4 separate regions of the Homo sapiens genome follow, and all the other regions are linked to region 4. The links are contacts of gene promoters, found by promoter capture Hi-C in human tissues and cell types (Jung and others, 2019). All regions are on one chromosome and are shown on one strand. Each heading gives the region's core, a stretch centred on a gene start or on the middle of the fragment in contact. The rest is flanking DNA. Distances are from core to core; before and after follow the strand shown.

Region 1 (2,700 bases), core at 116-2,615, 170 kb after region 4:
CAACTCACTGCACATTTATTGACTAAGACTTTCTTTCCTACTCTCCTCTATTCCTACGGATGCATTTTCAGTTTACTCTCCAACTACTTTCCATTTTCCATTTGCATTATTAAAATACAATCTACAATTCTGTATCTGAAACCCGTGGGCCCAGATGTATTTTAGAATTTTTTTTGTCCTTGAGAAATATCCCATGTATTAGTGAGGTCTGAGTCAAGGCAATACAATACTCCATATTCAAACACATTAATATTTCTGCAGTGAAACTAAGTGGGATAAATATTACAAAAAACAAACAAACATAAACCTTGTCAGTGAAGGTCAGCTTTTGCCATGAATAAGTTACCGAAACCTTGAGGTTTCAAACTGTTGATACTTGTGAATTGCAGATAAGAGATTGCCTCAATAACTAGCCTTATTTCTTGCCCTCAATATAACTTTCTGTTTCAAAGAATATTTCAAAGATGCGCATTTATTTATGAATAAATGGACATGAAGGGAAATATCATGATGGACAAAACAAAGAATGGGTACAGAGAAAGAAGGCCATCAGTCTGCAGGCTGAGTAAAATTTACTAAGTATCACTCTTTAATTTGGAGTGTTGTTATGATATGGAGGAACTGCTGACAACTTATTTCAGTCTCAGGTGTTTAAATACCCTACATATATTTGGGGGGCAAGTTGTTGAGATATTTTCCTTAAAAATCTTATACCATCTCTATTGGTGATGGTGAATTTTCTTGCATATTCTCAATACTCTGTGTATTGGCTATCTCTCTATTTCTTATCATTCTCTCCATTACCTATCTGTCTTCAATCTTATCACATCCTGTGTTAGTTGTATTTATTACCTGTGTTAGTTGTATTATTATTGCTGTGTAACAAATAACAAAAACACCTCAGTGTCATATGACAATTTGGGTTTATTGCTCACATGTCTGGAGTCATCTGGGAGTTGGCCGGGTGACTCTGCTGAACTATGCTTAACTTACATGTCTGGGCTTGCCTGGTTGTTGGCTGATCTAGACTCTTGGCTCAGGCAACTGTGCAGCTGGAGCAGCTTGGCTCTACTTCCTATGTATTCATTCTCCAACATGCTATCTCAAGCATTTTCTCATGGCAATGGCGGAGGCATAGTAAAGCAAGCCCCAGTGAACAAGCCCATTTCTAGATTCTGCTTGTGTCACACCTGCTAACACTCCATTGGCCTAAGCAAGTCATATGATTGAGCCGAAGTGAAGGGACAAATCACCCCATCCCCAGGTCGGTGGCCCAGAAATGTTACATGGCAAAGGATGTGGATACAGAGAGAAATGAAGAATTGTAAGAATCCTCACAGTCTTCAACTCTTCTCTCCTCTGGACTTCCTTGCTTAACCTCTGATACAGTTTGATATGGTCACAATTTATTTCTTTCTGTTTACAGTTCACTCCATGCAACCTCTGTCCTGGCAATCTTGAATTATTTCCCGCTCCTATATACACACCATGATTGTCTATGCTGTTCCCTTTGCTTATGGTGTTTTCTCCTCTCCCAATTTAATCCTTCAAAGTCTGGCTGAAATAATAAAGTGTACATGAATCTTTCCCCGTGTATGATAACTCTTTGTATGCAATGCCCTGTACTAACCAACAAACTGAAGGTAGGGTCAGTGCCTGCTTCATCTCAGTATTACCCACTATGCCTTGAACAAATAGGGTCATGAAAAGAGCATGGCTCACTTCATAAATAGAAGGCCCTACCAAAAGTTTATCATAGAGGAAAAGATTAGTAAAAATGTAAACTGTATGGAAAAATTTTCACTTCTTTTATGAGTTTAAAAAAAAGAAGAAAATCAGCAGAAGAGAATATATTTTACTGTTTAGTTAGGGCTTAGATCATAGCCCACATGGCATTGGGCATAAGGGTGGGAATATCATATTTTGTGAAGCCACTACAACTTGTATTCAAATTCTGAAATGATTTCACTTGATTATTTGTATAAACTGAGGTAGGTTATGGATGTTCTAAGGACTTATTTTTTCTTTTCATACATTTATTGTGAGAATTAAATGGGACTTTTAATTATGTCCCATTATATTATTTATAACTAAAATGTACATATATAAATTATGTAGGGCAACTGACATTATAGGCATTGAGAAATGTCAATTTTCATTTCCTTCTATTCGTTCGAAAGAAAGGAAGTTAAATAACACGATCAAGTAATAATTTAATCTTTTCTTTAGCAATTTCACACACTCAGTGTAACACACATTTACATTAATTTCCTATTCTTTACCAGCTCTCTGGAGAGTCCTGTGGCACACATACAGGGAAGAGTGAGGCACCTCAACCTCTGCACACCAATGATTTGTGACAATGGTGGTCAGCTCCTGTAACATCCTCTGTCTCAAGTATCTGTCTCATAGTCCAGATGGTTGGCAAAACATAATCTGAAAACCTACGAAGTTGCTTTTTATATCTGGAGATGGGCTGATGTTTGATGTCCTGATCTAGTACATCAAAATCTTGTGGAGAAACCACGAGTCTGTCTCTTGTCTGCATAGAATTCAAGTGGACTGCCCTTGGGCCAAAATGATTTTGCAGCTTCAGAAGCAAAAAAAGAAGAAAACTGACAGTGGCTCCAAAGTGACCCTAAACCCACTCTGTACCTTGTTCTGACATTGCTCAGCTACCCAGAGGTTTGATTTTAGTCT
Region 2 (2,700 bases), core at 80-2,579, 200 kb before region 4:
TAGTCTTGGATGCCAGGTGAGGAATTAAGATCATTGGAGTAAAACATCCACGTGTATCAGCATTGATGAGACTTTTCCTCCAGGAGTGTCTCTACTCTGAAATTTCCCAAAATAAAGAAAAGCAGAAGAGATGAAGAAGGTCCAGAGTAGAGGGTGCAAAACAGTGGAGAGAAGCAATGTGAAGATACTGGCTTCCTACAGAACAAGCAGAAAAATCCCTTTTAACACAATGTAGGGAAATGTTGGAAGAATTGTTCTTCAAGTGTCGTGCAAGATCCTTCAGATAATCCACGAGAGAACCAAATTAAAGCCCAGATCCCAAATCAACCGAGGTGCTCCTGGCTTAGTGGGGGCATCAGATGAGAAAAACCAATAATTTCAGTAACATATAGCTCTGGTGGGTATGCAGTGGCACCTCAATGTGTTTTTTAATTTGCATTTCTCCAATGACTAATGATGTTAAACATCTTTTCATGTACTTATTGGCCTTTGGGGTGGCGGGGAGGGCAGTGAACTGGCCGGATACTTTTAAAAGCATAGTATATCATTTATCATTTTCATCAGTGGTTCTCAACTGGGAGCAATTTTGCACCCCAGGGGACTTTTGGCTATGTCTGGAGACAATTTTGGTTGTCACTACTGGGAGGCTTTGCAACTGACACCCAGTATCTAGAGCGAGGGATACTGCTAAATATCGTATAATACACAGGCCAGACTCCACAACAAAAAACTACTGGGACCAAATGTCAATGGTGCCAGGGTTGAAAACATGGTTTTAATGGTTTCTGGTTGACTTTATACGTCTAAAATCCTGCAAGGACCTACGCAGTATATATGCAGGCCCTTGCCATCCAACCACATTATCTGAGCCACACTCTCCTGTGCTAATTCTGCTTCTCTCCTTCAAAATCTTGTGTTCCTTGGCTCTTTGGAATACCCACACCTGCTGTTCCCTCCACCTGACACATTCTTCTACTCATGCTGGCCTAAATCCCACTTGTCATAAATAGAATTTTCCAGGGAAACCTTCCATGCTTCCTATACTCACTTGTACTTTTTTTCCTTCATAGCAGTTATAATGAAAATAATTGTACCTCTATTTGCTTAGCATCTGTCTCCGCAATAAGGGCAGGCATGAAATCATTAATCATCATCAATCCACAACACTAGCACAATGCTTAAAAGAGACATCAGTACATTTTTAAAGTATGACTGGTGAATGAATGGATGAAGGGGTGGAAGGTACTGCAGCAAATAAAAACAAGGAAGATTCTGAAAAACATCAGTTGGGGTTGCTGGGAGCCATGTTGCCCACAGCCATGATAAAGAAATTTCAAAGTAGTGGTGAGGGCAGAAAAAGACTTTGGAAGGCTGAGAAGAAGTAGGTAGGAGGTAAGGACAGGGAGACAGTGACTATAAGTTACACTTGCATAGTAGAGGGAAGGAGATGAAGAAGAAGACGGTAACTAAAGGAGGAAAAGGGACTGGGGAACATTGTGTTGGTTTTGAGGTTGGGATTTTTACTAGTAAAGGCATATTGCTATGTTCTTAGGAAAGCTTCAACTGAGGGGAAACTCATATAGACACTGTTAAAAGAAAGGGGAGTGGTGTCAGATAATAATGAAGTCAGGATTCAGAGATGCCAGGAAGGTCGAGCTCCAAAATATAAATGCAGAAGGTGAGGTATTTCTCAGGGGCAGGAGGGCAGCTGGAATAATGGAGGTGGCCCAAGTACATTAAACGAGGAGTGGAGAAAGGAGGAAATTAAAAGCATTGTTCCAGGGACTTCCATTGCCTCTGTACACAAAGAATAGTGTAGGTGGAAGTTCATTATAAATCAGATTTAGAACTATGTCTTGTTACTTTTCTCACTTTAGCAATAAAGCACAAGTATTCTTTTTTCTCTTTGTGAATCATTATCGTGATAGGATGTTTTCACAACCATGCATCTTTTGTTCTGTCACTCCCAACGCTTCTGAATTTCTTTAAGGGCTTTTCATTGCAATATTTGGGTGTATGGGTGAGCATATTTTTCAGAAAATAGGAACTAATGGTAAAATTTAGAATATGAGAAATAAATACATTAAGCATCATCACCTTCAACCAATATTGAATTGCAGTGTAGTATACACTCAATCTTAAGACATATTTGGACCTTAAATGAAATCAGCACTGTAACAGCAGTGAGCTCTGCATTGCCAATAAATAGTTTCCTTCTCAAACACACATGGAGAAATCCCATTTAAGAAGGTCACAGAGTCCCTTAGGACCCTAGGAGATTTCAGATGGAATGGAAGGACAAGGAGCAAGGTGTTCCAACCAATGTAACACAACACCTCAAAGGTCACGAAGGTCTCATAGGAGCATGACTGCCCTCCAGGTCTGCCTCAAGGCTGCACACTCCCCTGTGTGAACCCACTGTGAGCCAGACAAACACCAGACAGTTCCTTCATTCCACAAATATCCCCTGAGCATCAGCACCTCCCAGTGCCAGGCCTATGCTCTCCCCTAGGGAAAAAAATAATAATGATAATTATAAAGCTATAGCCCTCCAGAAGTCCTGCTCTAGTTGTAATATAAACAAGGCCTATCTACCTCCCTGCACAAGTAATATAGATCTGGCCTCTCAGTTGACACTGTCTTGCATTCTGCATCGTGCTTGAGAGCAGGCAACTCACCCTCTACATTTCCTTCATGTCT
Region 3 (2,700 bases), core at 79-2,578, 190 kb before region 4:
GCTCATAACTCACTTGAGGCCTGCCACAGTGGGAAGGACAGTGTTTTGATTTGAATAGACATATCTTTTAACAGCCAGTTCTACCAATTACTACGTACGTAACCGTGGGAAAGTCTCTTATCTCTTCTGAAATACAAGGTCCTAATATGTAAATGGAGAAATAATAATAATGTCAAAGCTTTTTATGTCACATACTCTTCTCAGGGTTTTACATTTTTAATGCATTCACTGTCATATTAACCCCTAGGAGCCGGGTTACTATTATCTCCACTTTATAGCTGGGTAATCTGAGTCAGAGAAGTGTTAAGTAGTTGTTCAACATTTTCCAGCTAGTAAGTGAGTGAACCAGAATTTAAACTAGGCAGTTTGACCCCAGAGCCTACATATTTAACCACCACAGTAAGCTGTCTTAAAGAGGTATTGCAAAGATTAAATGAAATCATATATCTAAGTCCCTGTCACAGCGGTAATCAATAGTAGTTAACACACATATGGTTATTCTGAAATTCTACTATATTCCCTTTCTATGCCCTAAATAACTCTTTTAGTCTTAAAAGACAGCATTCTAATTCTGTGGTCTGTGATTTAGTAAACTTCTTTTTGGCTGCATTGATTCTATAAACTTTAATCATATTCATTTTTGTCTCTAACCTTCTAGAACTGAAAAGCTCTTTTCCATCATGAATAAATGAGTTCTAATTGCATCTAAGAATCAGGGCTCCTTTAACTCACCTTTTTTGATATAAGAGAGATATGGAGAAAAACTACCCAGAACCAGCTTTATAATAACCACATCTGGGTTACAGTCAGTAGCCTTTGGCAGGTCAAACCCTCCCATATGTGCTGATCCATGCTCTTCCCTGCCTGGCTGGCCAGAATGAAAGTGATCCTGGTGGTGACCTTGGAAGCCACGCACTGAAGAAGGCAGAGCTTCTGTTAGTTTGAGTCCCTGATTAACTCCATGGAAAAAGGTCACCCTGATGACTTGTTCCCCTGCCCAGTAAATTATGTGAACAAGAGGCACACTTATAAAGTATTAGAGCCAAGAATTAAATGCCTTTGGCATCATTATTTTCATTACTTTTCACATTAATATAAGAGATAAGGCTTACACCTCTTGAATGGTAAATAAGAAAATGCATCATGATGAAATTGCCAGCTTCTGACTCAGTGAGTTCTGTTATCAAGTAAAACACTGACAGAGGCAGAGTCTCAAAGGAAGACAACTTAAAATTATCACCCACACATTGAGAAGAACATCTTCCTTAGAAGCTCTTATTTGAACCCTTTCTTGATAGCACAGTACGTTTCTCTAAATTCTATCACACAAAAGAAAAAAGCCTTCAGATTGCTTTAGTTATGCTACAAAAATGGTGAGGTTTTTTTTTTCTTTTTGAAAAACAAGACAAATGACCTTCTGTTCATTTAAGCTCTACTTTATGCTTCATATAAAGCAAAGGCTTTCATTGAAATCTGGCTGATCGCCTTAAACGCAATTTCAGAAAAAGAATTTGGAAGCTCAGATCCAAAAAATGTTTAAGGAGAGACACTCTCAGCACAATCCAGATTTCATGGAAAATGCAGGTGTTTGCAGAGAAGACTGCGGAAATGATGCCTCAGGATGGCAAGAAGCACCCACCTCACCCTATTTCCTTCTCCGTCATCTCTGGGCCCTCAGATATAGTGACTGAGACACACCAGTGTAAATATATAATCTTCATGAGTCAGTTTATCTTCCAGATATGTATCTTCCCTGTTCTATAAAAATAAACACCAGCATACCCCCAATTCTCTCTCACTTCAGATAAAATCACTGAGCTTTAGGTCTCTAATGATATCTATTGTTGTAAGCAACAGGATTTAAAGGAAGTTTCATTTTATTTTCACCTCAGGGCACTGTAAACAGATTTGCATTTTAAAAAACATCTTTTTGCCTTTCAATTTGTTTGGGGTAAAAATCCTCTTCCAAATTTTGCTGGAGTTAAATTCCACACTTCAGTGCCTCCCTTTTGTATACAAAGACTTCAACCACCATTACCGATACAGTGACAACTATAAAATATGAATAATCACCTTTTCACATTTTTGTAGAAATTTTAACAAAGAACAACATGATTTTGCTTCATCAAGATTTCTCTTTCTAGTATTCCCTCATTTCACTGTAGTGGCACCATCTTAGGAAACTAAAAGCAAACTCTTTGACTTTTTTATTGGTTATAACTATTCCTATTATTCTTTATAGCATACAAAGGAGGGGGTAAAGTCACTTTTCAAAGGAGCTGTGTTAGAGATTTCTAGTTGCCATCCAATATCTATTTTCCTAGTGTCCATCAGTAGCAGGACTCCCAATTTGAAGTCACAATGTGTTTTGTTCACCTTCCCCCTTCCTCCTTCCTGTGGCCTGGAATGGCCACTCAAGGGCTGAAGTTCCAGCTAGGAGGTGACCTTGAGCGTGAAAGCCAGGAGCTAGACTAGTAGAGAAGAAAGAAATCCTTGGGTCTCCAAACCACCACACCATCCTGGATCATCTAGATTTTAAATGACAGAAAAAAAGTTCCTAGCTTGTTTAAACCCCTATAATTTAGCGATTTCCATCCTATGCAACCACAATCAACTCTCACTGACATAGCGGCAAATACCGAACACTGGCACTATTGCTTTGTTCTACATCAGTTCTTCAATTGCCTTTCTAAGCTCTGC
Region 4 (2,700 bases), core at 119-2,618:
CCTTATAAGAGAAGGGAATCCTGTCATTTGCAGTAGAACCCAGAGAACATTATGCTAAGTGAAATAAGCCAGGCACAAAAGGGAAATTATTGCATTATTTCACTTATAGGTGGGATTTTGTTTTAAAAAAGACTTCAAATGCACAGAGCTAGAGAATGAAACAGTGAATACCACTAGTGGGAAGCAGGGAAGAGGAAAAGGGGTGATATAGGTCAAAGGATACAAAATAGTAGACACGTAGGATACATAAATCTACAACAGGGTCCCTAACCTTTTCGGCACCAGGGACAAGTTTTGTGGAATACAATTTTTCCATGGGCAGTGGGGGTAGGTGGATGGTTTTGGAATGAAACTGTTCCACCTCAGATCATCAGGCATTAGATTCTCATAAGGAGTGGCGCAACCTAGATCCCTCGCATGTGCAGTTCACAATAGGAGGCGGAGCTCAGTCTGTAAAGCTTGCTCACCGGCTGCTCACCTCCTGCTGTGCAGCTTGGTTCCTAACAGGCCACGGACCAGTACCAGTCCATGCTGGGGAGTTTGGGACCCCTGGTCTAGAGAGCAAACGTGCAAAATGAGGACTAAAGTTAATAAAATTGTATCATATTAGGAATTTTTGTTAAATAAGTTGATTTTAGCTGTTCTTGTCATACACACAAAAAAGTAATTACGGGTGAGATGATACATATATTATATTGGCCTCCCTACTGTAACCATTTTTCTGTGTATATGTATCTCATAATATCATGTTGTAAACCTCAAATATACAGAATGAATAAAACAATTAGCTGTCAATTTGGCCTTAATGTTCCATGTTAAAGCCAAATGTCTATGTTTGTAATCAGCTAAATTTTATATTGTGCAGAAGCCCTGAATTTCACGGATGCCCCATATTTCATGGATGCCCCGTTCAGTTCATAAGCTCTTGTTTACATGATTTGTGCATGATCCAAATGTGGAAAGAAAATGAGTGGGCAGCCTATTCTGGGTATCAAGCAAAGAGCACAGGCACAGACCATGTGCAATAAGCAGCCTTAGGCAAAACTGAACCAAGAGTGGTTTCATACAGGTATTCCTCTAAGTCTTTAATTTTTTACTTATTCCTTTCCCCTTTTTAATGTGATAGACACCTAATCACCTTCTGCTGCCTTCCCAACCTCAACTTTGGTGTTCTTTGGCAGATAGTGACTTCGGTGTTCTTTGGCAGATAGCCTACAAATGAAATTTCAAAGGCTAAGCATATAATGTTTGCTCACTTGATGTAAGCAACAGAGAACTAAATCTGAACTTTGGCAAAAGTCTATTAATAATTGACAAATAACAGAACAGTGAGGATGTAGAAAGCAATACATTAAAAAAAAAAAAACAACGAACTCCATCTGGGATAGCAATAACCTGTGAAAATGCTCCCCCGGCTAATTTGTATCAATGATTATGAACAACATGCTAAATCAGTACTTCCAAAGTCTATATATGACTATTACAGGTCTGGGGCAAATGATGAAGAAACTTTGGCTGATAATATTGCAGCATTTTCCAGGTAAGAAAATTTATTTTTTAAAATCATGTTTTAAAATTACACAAAGACCGTACCAAAATAAGATCTCCTAGTTTTACGTTGGTGGTGTGTAATTATTTGTTCAGATTTGTGCTTAGTAGAGAGGGAAAAGTTCTTGGGGCTGTAAGAAATCTTGGGCCTTTAAATTGTTAAAAAATATTCCAAGCCTGTGAATCTTGAGGAACTGACTGCAAAAGCCAAACCTATGTTACTTCACTTGGAAATATGACAACAATTAATTTAACTACATGTAAAAATAGCGATAAATTCGGATGACTTTTCTTTTTCTTAGTATGACAGTAAATGCTTATGTTCATGGTGTAGGAAACAGCATTAAATGCCAGATAACCATCTTATCCGGATGAACCAGACTGGATTGTTGGCTCAAATGTTTTCTTCCTGCTGGCTTTTCGTGTTATCATTCATTTTGATTACTGTTGTCTAAACTTTCACTTTAGATTTCAATTTGTCTATGCAGCATTAATCTTTCAACTTTGCTGTTTCATCTCTCCTTCAAAGCACTTCATCTCTCTTCCCAAATTAGTTTTCCTTTGACTTTCATATTTCAAAGCACAAGATGGTGGGTGACATGGTTTATGTTTTCTGTTTGTAATAAAAACAAGAAATAAAATCATTTCAAAGGGTTTTTTTTTATAGCAGTTACAAAAATGGTTTATTTGCTGGAGCAAGAGAGGAGTGCCTTCACTACACTACACTCAGTCTCATCCATCTAACATTATGGCTGTTAGTAAAGGCAATCGGTATTGTGGGTACTCATTGATGGTGATAAAGACAAAAAGGCAGAAAATATGCAGGGGGAGAGAATTAGCCTTCCTCCCTGATTTCTTCTTTAGTCTACAACAAAATCACTCAAAATCAGTTTTCCATATTTAAATTAGGAGAAATAAAATTATCCTGGCCAAGGTGGTCTCTGGTAGGCAGCACTGATTCACCCACAAATCCATGTAGAAGACTGAAAATGGCAATGGGGTGAAGGATACGGCCTCTCCCCAACCCTTTCAAGCCTTGACTTTGTCTCAGGTTTTGCCTGGAACCCAAATGAGCTCAACAAATGCCAGGGAAGTCATGGGAAGGGAAGTTGACTGAGAGTAGAGGGGCTTAAAATTCTGCATCATTATTTA

What was found. Contacts are between HindIII fragments. The study calls those that stand out against the background at their distance.
Region 1: a fragment that was not itself captured here is called in contact with the fragment with the promoter of HAO1 in region 4 in 1 of the 25 tissues and cell types used here (liver).
Region 2: a fragment that was not itself captured here is called in contact with the fragment with the promoter of HAO1 in region 4 in 1 of the 25 tissues and cell types used here (small bowel).
Region 3: a fragment that was not itself captured here is called in contact with the fragment with the promoter of HAO1 in region 4 in 3 of the 25 tissues and cell types used here (IMR-90 fibroblasts, hippocampus and mesenchymal stem cells).

Annotation. Positions count from the first base shown.
Region 1 is chr20:7,770,880-7,773,579 of GRCh38, reverse strand. No RefSeq gene overlaps it. Among named protein-coding and RNA genes, the nearest start is that of HAO1, 170 kb to the left of the region's middle. The HindIII fragment of the contact is 5,580 bases long and covers 1-2,700 here.
Region 2 is chr20:8,141,927-8,144,626 of GRCh38, reverse strand. The region is part of intron 1 of PLCB1 (phospholipase C beta 1); the gene reads right to left. Among named protein-coding and RNA genes, the nearest start is that of PLCB1, 11 kb to the right of the region's middle. The HindIII fragment of the contact is 8,300 bases long and covers 1-2,700 here.
Region 3 is chr20:8,125,357-8,128,056 of GRCh38, reverse strand. No RefSeq gene overlaps it. Among named protein-coding and RNA genes, the nearest start is that of PLCB1, 5.6 kb to the left of the region's middle. The HindIII fragment of the contact is 5,756 bases long and covers 1-2,700 here.
Region 4 is chr20:7,939,126-7,941,825 of GRCh38, reverse strand. It overlaps HAO1 (hydroxyacid oxidase 1), which reads left to right and starts at 1,368. Exons shown (of 8, transcript NM_017545.3): 1 at 1,368-1,540. The coding sequence starts at 1,404. The HindIII fragment of the contact is 11,188 bases long and covers 1-2,700 here.